Regions from separate parts of the Homo sapiens genome. Here all the other regions are linked to region 2. Evidence: promoter capture Hi-C in human tissues and cell types (Jung and others, 2019). All regions are on one chromosome and are shown on one strand. The core of a region is centred on a gene start or on the middle of the fragment in contact, and the rest is flanking DNA. Distances in the headings are between cores, read along the strand shown. Region 1 overlaps LINC01483 (long intergenic non-protein coding RNA 1483). Region 2 holds the start of KCNJ2 (potassium inwardly rectifying channel subfamily J member 2). Region 3 overlaps MAP2K6 (mitogen-activated protein kinase kinase 6). Region 4 has its middle 3.4 kb from the start of LINC01483.

Region 1 (3,014 bases), core at 407-2,906, 560 kb before region 2:
CTAAAATGTCTCCAGAATTTGCTAAATGTTGGGATAGGGAAGGATTGCCACCTGTCGAGGACCACTGATTTATATTAATGTAACTTTTCTGCATAAAACCATTAAATACCATTACTCAAGGGATATAAGCTGGCTAATGATTTTCTCTGCGGCATTTAGCAAAAAATCCATCTGGTGAAAATACCAGTGAAGAGGAACAGAAACAATTGTAAATCTTCAAAAATCATTCCTTGAGCAAGAAAATGCCTTGGGCTAGCCACTGCCTTCCCCATTCACCCTGACCCCCACCCCAAATACAACATTTTATTTTTAACCATCTAAGTAAGGCTGATGTTGCTGATGGATAACAGCTGCTGTATTAGTCTGTTCTCACACTGCTATGAAGAAATACCCAAGACTGGGTAATTTATAAAGAAAAGAGGTTTAATTGACTCAGTTCTGCATGGCTGCGGAGGCCTCAGGAATCTTACAATCATGGTGGAAGGCATCTCTTCACAGGGTGGCAGCAGAGAGAATGAATGCAAGCAGGGGAAATGCCAGATGCTTATAAAACCATCGGATCTCTTGAGACTCACTCATTATCACGAGAACAGCATGGGAGAAACTGCCACCATGATCCGATTCCCTCCACCTGGTCCCACCCTTGACACATGAGGATTATTACAATTCAAAGTGAGATTTGGGCGGGGACACAGAGCCAAACCATATCAGCTGCAGAGATCTCTGGGTGGAGTGTTATGTGAGTGAGCTTGCTACAGATTGGAGTGAGCCACTGAACTGTTAGGGGCATTTTTCTGATTAGAATTGCATTCTGCTATCTTTGAGTTTCTGCTGAGGTTGCTTGTCATTACATTGGCAGGCAGATAGAAACTATGAGATATGCTATTGTAAATGCATTATTTTCTCTATTATTTATAGCTGTGAGTAGGTAGTGATATAGGTGGTAAGAAAGCAACATCACAGATTTGATATGGTTTGGATTTGTGTCCCTGCCCAAATCTCCTGTTAAATTGTAATCCCCAATATTGGAAGTGGGGCCTGGTGGGAGGTGACTGGATCATGGAGGTGGAATTCTCATGAATGCTTTAGTATCATCCCCTCTTGGTACTGTGTCGTAAGTTCTCACAAGATCTGGTTGTTTAAAAGTATGTGGCACCTCCCCCGTCCCTCTCTCTCTTGCTCCTGCTCTGGACATATGAAGTGCTGGCTTCCCCTTTGCCTTCCACCATGATTGTAAGTTTCCTGAGGCCTCCCTAGAAACCAAGCAGATGCTGTCATTCTTCCTGTACAGCCTGCAGAATTGTGAGCCAATGAAACCTCTTTTCTTTATAAATTACTCAGTCTCAGGCCTTTCTTTCTTTCTTATTTCTTTTTTTTTGTTTGTTTTTGAGACAGAGTCTGGCTCTGTCACCCAGGCTGGAGTACAGTGGTGTGATCTTGGCTCTTTGCAACCTTCACCTCCCAGGCTCAAGCCAACCTCCCACCTCAGCCTCTAGAGTAGCTGGAATCACAGGTGTGTACCACCACGCGTGACTAATTTCTGTATTTTTTGTAGAGACAGGGTTTCACCCTGGTCTCAAACTTCTGAGCTCAGGCGATCTACCTGCTTCAGCCTCCCAAACCGCTGGGATTACAGGTGTGAGCCACCATGCCCAGCCTAGGTATTTCTTGATAGGAGCGTGAGAACAGACTAATACAAGATTGAAAGGAGGAAGGCCAAGGCAGGTGCTAGTAGTTAGATATATATAAGTGCAGTCGAGAATCAGGAATAAAGCCTTGCCAACTGCCCTCTCAGTAGTTTAAAACCTTCAGAAATCTAAATTTAGCAGTTTTATAGGTGATTACTAAGAATTTGTCTCTGCCAGCCAAAGTCAAGAAAGCAAAGAAGAGAATCGTGGTTGCCAGGGGCTGAGGGGAGGGGAAAATGGGGAGTTGCTAATCAAAGGGCAAAAAATCAGTTATGCAGGATGCATAAGCCCCAGAGATCTGCTATGCAACATTCTGTATGTGCACAGCAATTACTATATTGAACACTTAAGAATCTGGTGGGAGGGTAGATGTGGTAAGTGTTAAGTGTTCCTTACTACATTAAAATTTAAAAAAGAAAAAAAAACAGTATGTATGACCTTGTGGGGGAAAAATAAAAAACCTTTAGGTAAAAGAGGTCAGTTTTTTTTTCCTTTTTTTTTATAATCATTTTTTTAATTTTATTATTATTATACTTTAAGTTTTAGGGTACATGTACACAATGTGCAGGTTAGTTACATATGTATACATGTGCCATGCTGGTGCGCTGCACCCATTAACTCATCATTTAGCATTAGGTATATCTCCTAATGCTATCCCTCCCCCCTCCCCCCACCCCACAACAGTCCCCAGAGTGTGATGTTCCCCTTCCTGTGTCCATGTGTTCTCATTGTTCAATTCCCACCTAGGAGTGAGAACATGCAGTGTTTGGTTTTTTGTCCTTGCGATAGTTTACTGAGAATGATGATTTCCAATTTCATCCATGTCCCTACAAAGGACATGAACTCATCATTTTTTATGGCTGCATAGTATTCCATGGTGTATATGTGCCACATTTTCTTAATCCAGTCTATCATTGTTGGACATTTGGGTTGGTTCCAAGTGTTTGCTATTGTGAATAGTGCCACAATAAACATATGTGTGCATGTGTCTTTATAGCAGCATGATTTATAGTCCTTTGGGTATATACCCAGTAATGGGATGGCTGGGTCAAATGGTATTTCTAGTTCTAGATCCCTGAGGAATCGCCACACTGACTTCCACAATGGTTGAACTAGTTTACAGTCCCACCAACAGTGTAAAAGTGTTCCTGTTTCTCCACATCCTCTCCAGCACCTGTTGTTTCCTGACTTTTTAATGATTGCCATTCTAACTGGTGTGAGATGGTATCTCATTGTGGTTTTGATTTGCATTTCTCTGATGGCCAGTGATGATGGGCATTTTTTCATGTGTCTTTTGGCTGCATAAATGTCTTCTTTTGAGAAGTG
Region 2 (2,905 bases), core at 3-2,502:
TTGTCAGTTTCACCTCTCCTACACACAAAAATCCACCCCGACTGCGCCGTCCACAATACCAGCTAGTTTGCTGAATTAGTTCAGCGACTCAAGGAGGCCTTACGAGGTTTAAATAAACTGCACAAAAGACACATTTGATCGCTCGAGAAAATAAACATTTAAAAAACTCAGTGGAAAGAAAGACTCCTAAAATATATCCTGTCCTTTAGGAGCAAAGCTTCGTTAGGACACCGAAGTACTCAGAAATAATAGGCACTTACTCTTCGGTTTACACACACACACACACACACACACACGGATTAGTTTATAAAGTTCCAGGATCCAGACCCGGTTAACACTGAAGTTGCTTTTTAGGGGTCTGCGCGCTCTCGCCTGGCTGCTGGGAAGGAGGGCTGGGAGGCGCTGAAGCGAGGGCAGATCTGAGTGTCTGTAGGAGTTGCTATTCCAAAAAAAATCATTACTCTCTAATTGTTCTGATTTTAGATCAGCAAAGCGTGCCGGGCGGTGGTGGAGAGACTGAGGGCGGACAAGGCGAGAGGGAACGAGCCGTCCACCCTTCGGAGAAGCCTAGGCGCCTTGTAAGTAATTCGCGAACAGTCGGGAGAACAAACAGCCAAGCGGCGCTGCAGTGGCCGCACTTGCGCGCGTCTCAATCCTGGGGGCTCTGCGCGCCCGCCCCAGTCCCTCGCCCCATTGACTCAGTGGCTTCTCCGGGCGCTGCAGCCTCCGCGGGGGGCTTCGAAGGGCCGAGGGGCTCCGGCAGAGAGGGAGTGGAGAGGGAGACGCGCCGGGACCGACGAACAATCCTGCCCCTGCGGCAAAGGTCTCTACCCGGCGCTGGCACCTCGCAGGCCCCTCGAGGAGCACGCAGGGCAAGCGGCCCAAGAGCGGGGGAACCGGGAAGTGTGTGGGGCTCCAGACGGAGTAGGAAGCTTTGCCCAAGGCCAGGCTGCAATCAGGCAGCCGCAACAGCCGGGCGCGGAGCTTCCCACCTGCTGCTGTCCCAGCTGGGCCGCAACTTCCTCCTCCCCGGCCCGGGCCCGACTCCCCGGCCGGGCTCCGAGGGTGGAGGGGGACGAGGCGGCGGCAGGTTCCCTCCGCTGGCAACGCCTCGCAGCATCCTCCCCTCCCCGCCGCGGTTCCCGGGGCCGGCCGCGCGGCCAGGCGCGCTGCGATTGGCCGGCAGCGGCCGGGGGCGGGGCCAGGAGAGCCGGTGTCGCACGGACCGCCTCAAAAGAGCCCAGGATATTGCAGAGCGCACTGGAGCCCTGGCCAGCGCGCAGCCTTCCCGGCGCCGGCGGGCTGGGTCTTGGGAATTCTGGTTTGCTTTGGCTCACTCGCTTTTTACAAACCACTGGATCTTACATGCCTCTGTACCCCCCACTTCCACTCCATGTCCCCATGCTCCTGCGCCAGCAACAGGTAAGGGCTGCTGTGTTTTCTTCCTTTTCGCTCGCTGCCGGTGTGTCCTGGGGAATGGACTCTGGCCGCCGTCCCCTACCCTACCCTGCCCCGCTGCTCCAGAGGTGCCCAGCTGTCACACTGCTGTAGCGCTCACCCACACTCCGGAGTCCCAGATCATGCCTATATAGTTTGTGTGCGCACCAGAACATCCCCAGAGCTAAAAATACTGAGACATGCTTGGAACAGTTGAGCAATAGAAACAGATTTCTCTGCAGCATCTGTTTGTGCTCATAACTTCCAATGCACCAGCTGTAGCGAGATACTGGGTTTGGAGGCAAGGGCGAGAGCGTCTGTGTTCGGTTCTCACTCTAAGTGGGGAAAAAAAGAAAGAAAACGTGGTTGCGGGTTTGGGGGTGCGTCTTGAGCCCTGGTCTTAAACCTTGGCAAAGCTTGGGACTCAGCACTATTCTTGATCCTTGGCTTTTTTTTTTTTTCGTCATTGCTTCAAGTATAGCTGTGAGTTTCAAACAGAGTGAGTGTCTCAAAGTTGCCTTCCTGAAAGAAGAGCGGGAGCCCGAGTTGGATTTGAGCCTGAGGATCGCAAAACTTTCACATTACATATCACTCTCCCCTAACCAATTTGTTATTTTCAGTAATAATGGTATTAATACCTGGCTTGAAGACAGTGTGGTTTTAGGAAAGCAAAATAGTCAAAACGACTTGATTCTGCAAAAAGATTGCATCATAGCGTGGATTCATCATGACAATTGGAAAAAAAATAGGGATAGGGAATGGGCAGTTTAATGTCTGTGTCTGGGTAAGGATATCATAGGATGATCACTAGGATAAAAGGCTGTGAATTCCGACGATTTTCATAAATTCAGATTTTACCTGTTAGGAAATAAGGTGTTATTTGAAAACCTCGGATATGCAAAGAAACCATATTGCGTTTTATCATTTGTTTTCTTTTCACATTAATAATCAATAGGCTGCCAGATTTCCTCTCGCCAACCAATGTTGTGTGTCTGCTGTACATTATCTGTACACTTGTTAGCGTTTTCCTGCTCACTTCCAAATGTTTCATTTCTATTTGCCATTATCTGGAAAAATCCTGGTGCTCAGAAGGGGTAAGAGATGTTAATTGAAGCATGGTGGAAAGGGTGAGGATAAGGTCAAGGCCATTTTACTTAGCTTCCTCCTCTCTCATATTTTAATGACACTTTATTTTTTAATGTTCTTGGTCTCCATAAGAAATATTTGATCTAAACTCATGTGAATTTTGCTTTTAAAAAAAATAAAAGAACACAGTCTTTCTACATCCTTTGGATTCCTGAGTTGTAGAATCTCTGGTTAGCTGTAGCGTCCTTGTATGACTTTTGCGTAGCCTGAAAGATTGAAAACAGCTACCTGCACAGATTAAGTGTTTCAGATTTTTTTAAGTGTATATTTTTATTTACCAAACATGTCTGTTTTTCAGCGTATGCAAATGCTGAGCAGTGCT
Region 3 (3,086 bases), core at 161-2,660, 640 kb before region 2:
TGAAGATTCACCGTCATTAGCAGAGACCTTGCAATCCCCTTTAACTGGAGGAACGGCCACTAGATTCTACCTGGAAATGGACTTGTGCTTTGAATTGAAAAGCTTCCTGTCTGTGTTTAGCTAAAAATTGCTCAGGTCTATTAGCATGGGACAGTAGCCCAGTGACACTTGTTTTATTGAGTTCTGGACTGTTCATGTTTTAAACAAGGATAATTCTAGATGGGCAAAGTAGCTTTATAATGTATACCCTGTTTCTTCTTAAGGCAAATTTTAAATTTGTTATGAAAGGAACTTGATCCATTACTGTGTCCAAGAAAAGACAAACACAGAAGAAGGGAAACCCCACGGAGGCATTGATATTTGTTGTAGTTAACCGGGTCTTCTTGGCCTTGGTGGCATGTTAACAGCTTATAACAACTCACTTGGCAGCTGGTGCTACCCCCATCCCCAGAGACTATTGAGCTAAGAACGTTATCTCAATTGTCTTCCCAGTTTCTCAGTTGTCTGTCTTCTTTCCAGCCTGAAAGAATAAACCCAGAGCTCAACCAGAAGGGATACAGTGTGAAGTCTGACATTTGGAGTCTGGGCATCACGATGGTAGTGTATGCCAATCATCATGAACTATGAGGTTGTGGGTAATGAAACTAGAATGAGGTGGACGTTGGGTTCAAGAAACAAATGCCCTAAATGCTGGTTTGGGGCGCCCTCTCCTGCTGAGCTGGTAGGAGATTTTGAGTAATAATTGTTTGTATTGTGGTACAATAAAAACACTGATATGGGATTGGGGAAACCAATCTTTCTCTTGATTCCACCTCTGACGAGCTGTATGCCTTTTTGAGTAATTGTTACAGTCACATGGACTATCTTCCTATCCTCCTCTGTAAAACGAGAGGATCTGACCAGATTCCTTATAGTTTAAAATTAAATTATTCGAGCCAAGGCAAGAAGCTTAAGCTGTGCAAAGAATGCTAATGTGCGTGAACCCTGATAGGGCCGTGTTATCCAGGACATAGACTATGCTTCCCAGGATATTTTTATTGGAGAAGTAGAAGTCAAAGTCTGATCAGGTCAGTGTATTAGTTCGTTTTCACACTGCTGATAAAAGCATCCCCAAGACTGAGTAATTTAAAAGAAAAAGAGGTTTAATGGACTCACAGTTCCATGCAGCTGGGGAGGCCTCACGATCATGGCGGAAGGTGAAAGGCACATCTTATATGGCGGCAGACAAGAGAGAATGAGATGAGACAGCCAAGTGAAAAGGGAGATGCTTCATAAAACCATCAGATCTCGTGAGACTTTTTCACTACCATGAGAACCATAGAACAGTATGGGGGAACCACCCCCATGATTCAATTGTTTCCCACTGGGTCCCTCCCACAACATGTAGGAATTATGGGAGCTACAATTCAAGATGAGATTTGGGTGGGGACACAGCCCAACCGTATCAGTCAGGTATATCCTCAATACATGATAACCAATAGGATGATTTCCTTAGACACAGCCCTAAAGTTATATGATTTATTCATAACTTATTCATAACTTTGGTGATTGTAAATTTCATAACTTTGGTGGTCATACATTTTCAGTGGATCACCAAGGTCTGGAATTATCCACTGTGGTCCTGGCTCCTCCCCAGGCACAGCAGCTGAATAAATCCCATGAGTTATTTCTCCTGCCTGCCCAGAAAGCACATGATCCTGTAATGCAAAGTGGCCTTTTCTCAAGTCCAAAAAAAGATCTGTCATTTGGTTCTAGGTTGCTTTTTCTCCCTGTCATTTCACCAAGGGACCTGAAGGTGGCAGTAGATGCTCGGCTCTGGAAAGATCTTAGGCTGGGAATTACTTGTCAGACCAAACGTTTGAAATCCTCGTAGCTTTACATCCTGAAGTTTAATACGGTTGGCTTACAATTTTTATGAAGTGCCACAGTGGGTTTTAGTGAGGGTCCCCATTTTAGATAGGCTTAAGTGGCTGTGTCTAGTAAGTAATATTTAAAAATCCCTAGCACTAGGAATTTGGGGAAAATTGCTAGAGAACAAATTATTAGTTTATTTCCTGCCCCCCTACCCCTGGACTTATACTTGAACTTTGCCTTGTGTTTCCTGCTGTCTATCCACAAATGAAACGTGGGTGATTCCCTAAAGCAGCCCTGTTGAAACTGTTGTCTCCTTTTTTCTTCTTTTCTCCAGATTGAGTTGGCCATCCTTCGATTTCCCTATGATTCATGGGGAACTCCATTTCAGCAGCTCAAACAGGTGGTAGAGGAGCCATCGCCACAACTCCCAGCAGACAAGTTCTCTGCAGAGTTTGTTGACTTTACCTCACAGTGGTAAGACAGCCTCACCTCCCAAGTGTCAGTGTGAAAGAAGAAGATGAGTTCTCATGAATTTCTTCCATCGGGGTTGAATCCATCATGCATACATTCATTCCGAAAGCATTTGTGGAGTATGCCCTCTCTGCTGGAGAAGCAAAGATGACCGTATCACACTCCCTGCCCTCACTGAGCCCAAAGTCAAGTAGAGAAGTCTCATAAATGAATAATTATAGTATAATGTGGCAAGTCCAGTGATAGAGATAGGGGCATAGGCGATTTAAGGAACTCAGAGGGAAGACCTCAGGATAGGCTTTTCTGGAGGAGATAAATCTGGAGCTGCGATCACGAGAGGAATTTTCCAGACAAAAGGGAAATAGGAAAGGAAACATATTCCAAACAGAAGGAACATCATTCACAATGTCACGAAAGCAAGAAACTCCTTTATGTGAGCTTTAAGCAATTTGATGTTGATTAAAGCATAAAGAGAAAGCTGATAGGACCCACTAGAGGCCTGGGGATAGGAAGTAGAGGCAAAGAATTACTTTCGGTGAGAAGATAGTGGGTAGTTTGAGAGTGTTTCTTAGGTCCCCAGAAGTCTTGTAGAACCTTGGTTGCTACTGAATACTTGCTAACTGTGGAGAAACTTGCCCACCATAAGAGACAATGCTGAAGTTCTGGGAAGGGAATCCAAAGGAAGTTGGGGTGGAAAGTGGGAGGGAGCCATACTCATGAGGTGAACTATATTTTCATGAAAACTGCCAGGGCAGTCAAGA
Region 4 (3,107 bases), core at 535-3,034, 580 kb before region 2:
TCTGTCACAAAGAAAATGTCACATGAACCTTCTCAAAGCCTGGAGATTTAGTGCCAAAATGCATTGTGACATTTATAGGGTTTACCTTAGGTTTAGAACAGAGACCTGAGTGCCCTAAAACTTAGTCGTGTGGCTAAGGATCATTTGAGACTAAATGCCAAGGAAATACTTTTCAATTGGTTTCTATTTCATGACTTGAAGTTGGGGGTAGGGGAAAGGATGGATTGTTACAGTAGTTTAAGATCCTATTGATCACATGTCAGTCAGTTTGTCCTATTAAACACAGTACATGTGTATGGGGGAGTCTTGGTATGTATCCAATTCCATTCTCTATTAAATGACAATCTTGATAAAAGTTTATGGGTTTTTACTAAACAAAAACCAGAAGAGATTTGGTGGCAGAGATATTTAGTGCTCACAAAATATCAGGGCTTCCTTGCCTTCCTTTCTCAGCCTTGCTTGCGATTAAGTTCGAGCTGTGGACCCGTTTTGGCAAACGGGTTGTGAGCAGAAGTGATGTCTGCTCCTTTGATTTCTGCCCCCCAAATCCCTCCATGACTCTTGGGTTCTTTCCTCCTGTGCTGCAGAGGCCTTGGGAGCTGAGATGGGGAAATGGTGGCAACATGAGATGGAGAAGTCCTGGAGAGAATTTTCCTGTAAAAAATTCTGCACTGGACTTAGCATGAGCAAGAATTGAACCTTTGCGGTGTAGAGCACCCCTCCCCCCATATTTTGGGTTTCTCTTGTTACCTTACCAGAGGGAAGGTTAATTTTTCAAATTTGTATAATATCAGGATGACTGTCCAAATTTTTATCATAGTTCTGAAATGGGAGAGTTCCCTGACCCCCCTTGCAGGACATGTGACAGGGGTGTGGCTCATCTGTTCGGTAGCTGCCACTGCTCAAACCCCTTATGGGAGGGGGAGCACACAGACAGATAGGGGCAGGAGCCCAAGCAGGTGTGTGTTATAGTGAGCTCTTTTAACCTTGCCGTCCATGTGAAGCTTAAGTATTAACCAGTTCAGTGGACCCTCTGCCTTTTTGCAAGGATGGAGGGCCAGAGTGACAGCTTTCTGTATTCTGAGCTCTTGTCCAGCATCCCAGAAAAATTGGGTCACAGACGGATTTGAAGGATGGTGAATGCAGGGGTTTTATTGAGTGGTGGAGGTCTTTCTTAGGGGGTGGATGGGGAGCTGGGAAGGGGATGGAGTGGGAAGATGATCTTTCCCTGGGGTTTGGCTGTCCAGTGGCTGATTCTCCAACCGTCCCCAGCCAAACTCCTCCCGACATTCCTTCTCTTCTCCCCTTCTCTACTACTCTTCTGCTCTTCTCTTTGTCTGCTTCTCTCCTCCTAGAGCTGGGGATTTGTGTTTTATATGGGCAAAGGATAGGGGAGTGTGGCAGGACAAAAGGCAACTTTTGGGTGCAAAAACTGGAATGCCTGTTCCCATTTAGGGCCTCAGGTATCTAGGCTTGAGGGTAGGGCCTTTGCTGGGGACCCCCACCCTCCTGCCTCTTGTTCTTATCATTTCTAAGGCATTGCCTTAGAAACTGTCTGAGAGGTAAAGATTTTATTTCCACAGTCTCATAATTCACATCCCAGTTACTTATGCATATGTCTGGACAAACTTTGGTTGCAGTGTTTGGCAGCTCTTTGTGCTCTGCAAAGTATTTCTGTGGCATTTGAAATGCTCAGACAACCCCAACAATGTGGGAGTTGAGGAGGAGAAAATGTAGATGCAATTTCCCTTCAGAGTTATGCATTTTGCACACAATGCATAGTGGGCGGAACATTTATGTGAATTGTGCCTTTGGGGCATCATTGAAAGTTATGGCCTGTAAGAAAATGGGAATCAGTTTTATTTAAGTTGGTCTTTAAAAGGCAGCCCTAGAGGAAATTTTATCCCCATTATCTCTGTCAACTGCAACTTTTATGTCTTGCTGCTGACTGTCTATTACACTCCTACCTCTCAAGTCATCTTCTGTATCTACATGGCATTATTCCACTTGGGCTTCCTCCCATAATTCATTTTCTCAACTTTAAATTGATTTGTTTTTAAGAGAGAGGGTCTCCCTATGCTGCCCAGGCTGGTCTTGAACTCCTAGGCTCCTCCCACCTCAGCCTCCTGAGTAGCTGGGACTAGAGGAGTCACGTACCACCATGTTTGGCTTTTAACTCTTTGTTTTTGAAATTATCTCAGACTTAAAGACAATTTGCAAAAATAGTACTGAGAGTTTCCATATATCCTTCACCAGTTTCCCCAAATATTCAAATTTCAGCTTGTTTATTACTTGTCTTCTTTTTCTTTCTCTGAAATTTTTGGGAGTAAGTTGCAAATATGATGTCTTTTATCCCAAAATGCTTAAGTACATGTTTCCTAAAAATAAATGTTCTTTCACATAACTGCAGTACAATAAGCAAATTAGGAAATTAATATTGATCTAGTATTAATTTAGTCCAGCAGTTGGCAAATGTGCCTTCCCAGTTATGTTTGTAAATAAAGGTTTATTGGAACATAGCCATGCCCATTTGTTTATGGACCATCCTTGGCTGCTTTCTGCCTACAATGGTATTGTTAAATAGTTGTGGTAGAGACTACATGGCCTGCAGTCTCTGAAAACATTTACCATCTGATCTTCTAGAGGAAACACTTGTGAGGCTTCATCTGGTTGATAGATCTTATCGAATTTTATCATTTGTCCATAATGTCTTTTACTGCAAAAAAAAAAAATAATTCTCATTTGGCATCCTGTCCGTGATCACATATTATATTTGATTGTTATGTCTTTTTATTCTCTTTCATTGTAAAACAATTATTTGGTGTTTCTTTATTGTTCATGACCTTGATACTTTTGATAAATACAGGACATTTATTTTGTATACCACATTTCAGTGTAGGTTTGTGAACTTTTCTCGTGATTTGATTTATGTTAAGCATTTTTGGCAATACTCAGATGTGATGTTTTGTCTTTCTTAGTGCAATCTAATGGGGCGCACATGATGTCTATTTTTCTCATTATTGGTGGTAATTTTGATCCCTTTGGTTAAGATGATAAGGTTTCTCCACTGTAAAATTGTTTTTCCCTTTGTCCTTAATACGTATCTT

The links. The method cuts DNA at HindIII sites, captures the fragments that hold promoters and counts their contacts. A contact is called where the count stands out against the background at its distance.
Region 1: a contact is called between a fragment that was not itself captured here and the fragment with the promoter of KCNJ2 in region 2, in 1 of the 25 tissues and cell types used here (dorsolateral prefrontal cortex).
Region 3: a fragment that was not itself captured here is called in contact with the fragment with the promoter of KCNJ2 in region 2 in 1 of the 25 tissues and cell types used here (IMR-90 fibroblasts).
Region 4: a fragment that was not itself captured here is called in contact with the fragment with the promoter of KCNJ2 in region 2 in 1 of the 25 tissues and cell types used here (dorsolateral prefrontal cortex).

Annotation. Positions count from the first base shown.
Region 1 is chr17:69,609,739-69,612,752 of GRCh38, forward strand. All of the region lies in intron 2 of LINC01483 (long intergenic non-protein coding RNA 1483), which reads left to right. Among named protein-coding and RNA genes, the nearest start is that of LINC01483, 17 kb to the left of the region's middle. The HindIII fragment of the contact is 7,727 bases long and covers 1-3,014 here.
Region 2 is chr17:70,168,280-70,171,184 of GRCh38, forward strand. KCNJ2 (potassium inwardly rectifying channel subfamily J member 2) reads left to right here and starts at 1,253. Exons shown (of 2, transcript NM_000891.3): 1 at 1,253-1,422. It overlaps KCNJ2-AS1 (KCNJ2 antisense RNA 1), which reads right to left and starts at 1,123. Exons shown (of 1, transcript NR_036534.1): 1 at 1-1,123. RefSeq lists a silencer at 849-1,308. The HindIII fragment of the contact is 1,534 bases long and covers 1-1,392 here.
Region 3 is chr17:69,524,382-69,527,467 of GRCh38, forward strand. MAP2K6 (mitogen-activated protein kinase kinase 6) reads left to right here. Exons shown (of 12, transcript NM_002758.4): 9 at 520-597; 10 at 2,189-2,328. Among named protein-coding and RNA genes, the nearest start is that of MAP2K6-AS1, 40 kb to the left of the region's middle. The HindIII fragment of the contact is 4,624 bases long and covers 1-3,086 here.
Region 4 is chr17:69,589,056-69,592,162 of GRCh38, forward strand. No RefSeq gene overlaps it. Among named protein-coding and RNA genes, the nearest start is that of LINC01483, 3.4 kb to the right of the region's middle. The HindIII fragment of the contact is 8,856 bases long and covers 1-3,107 here.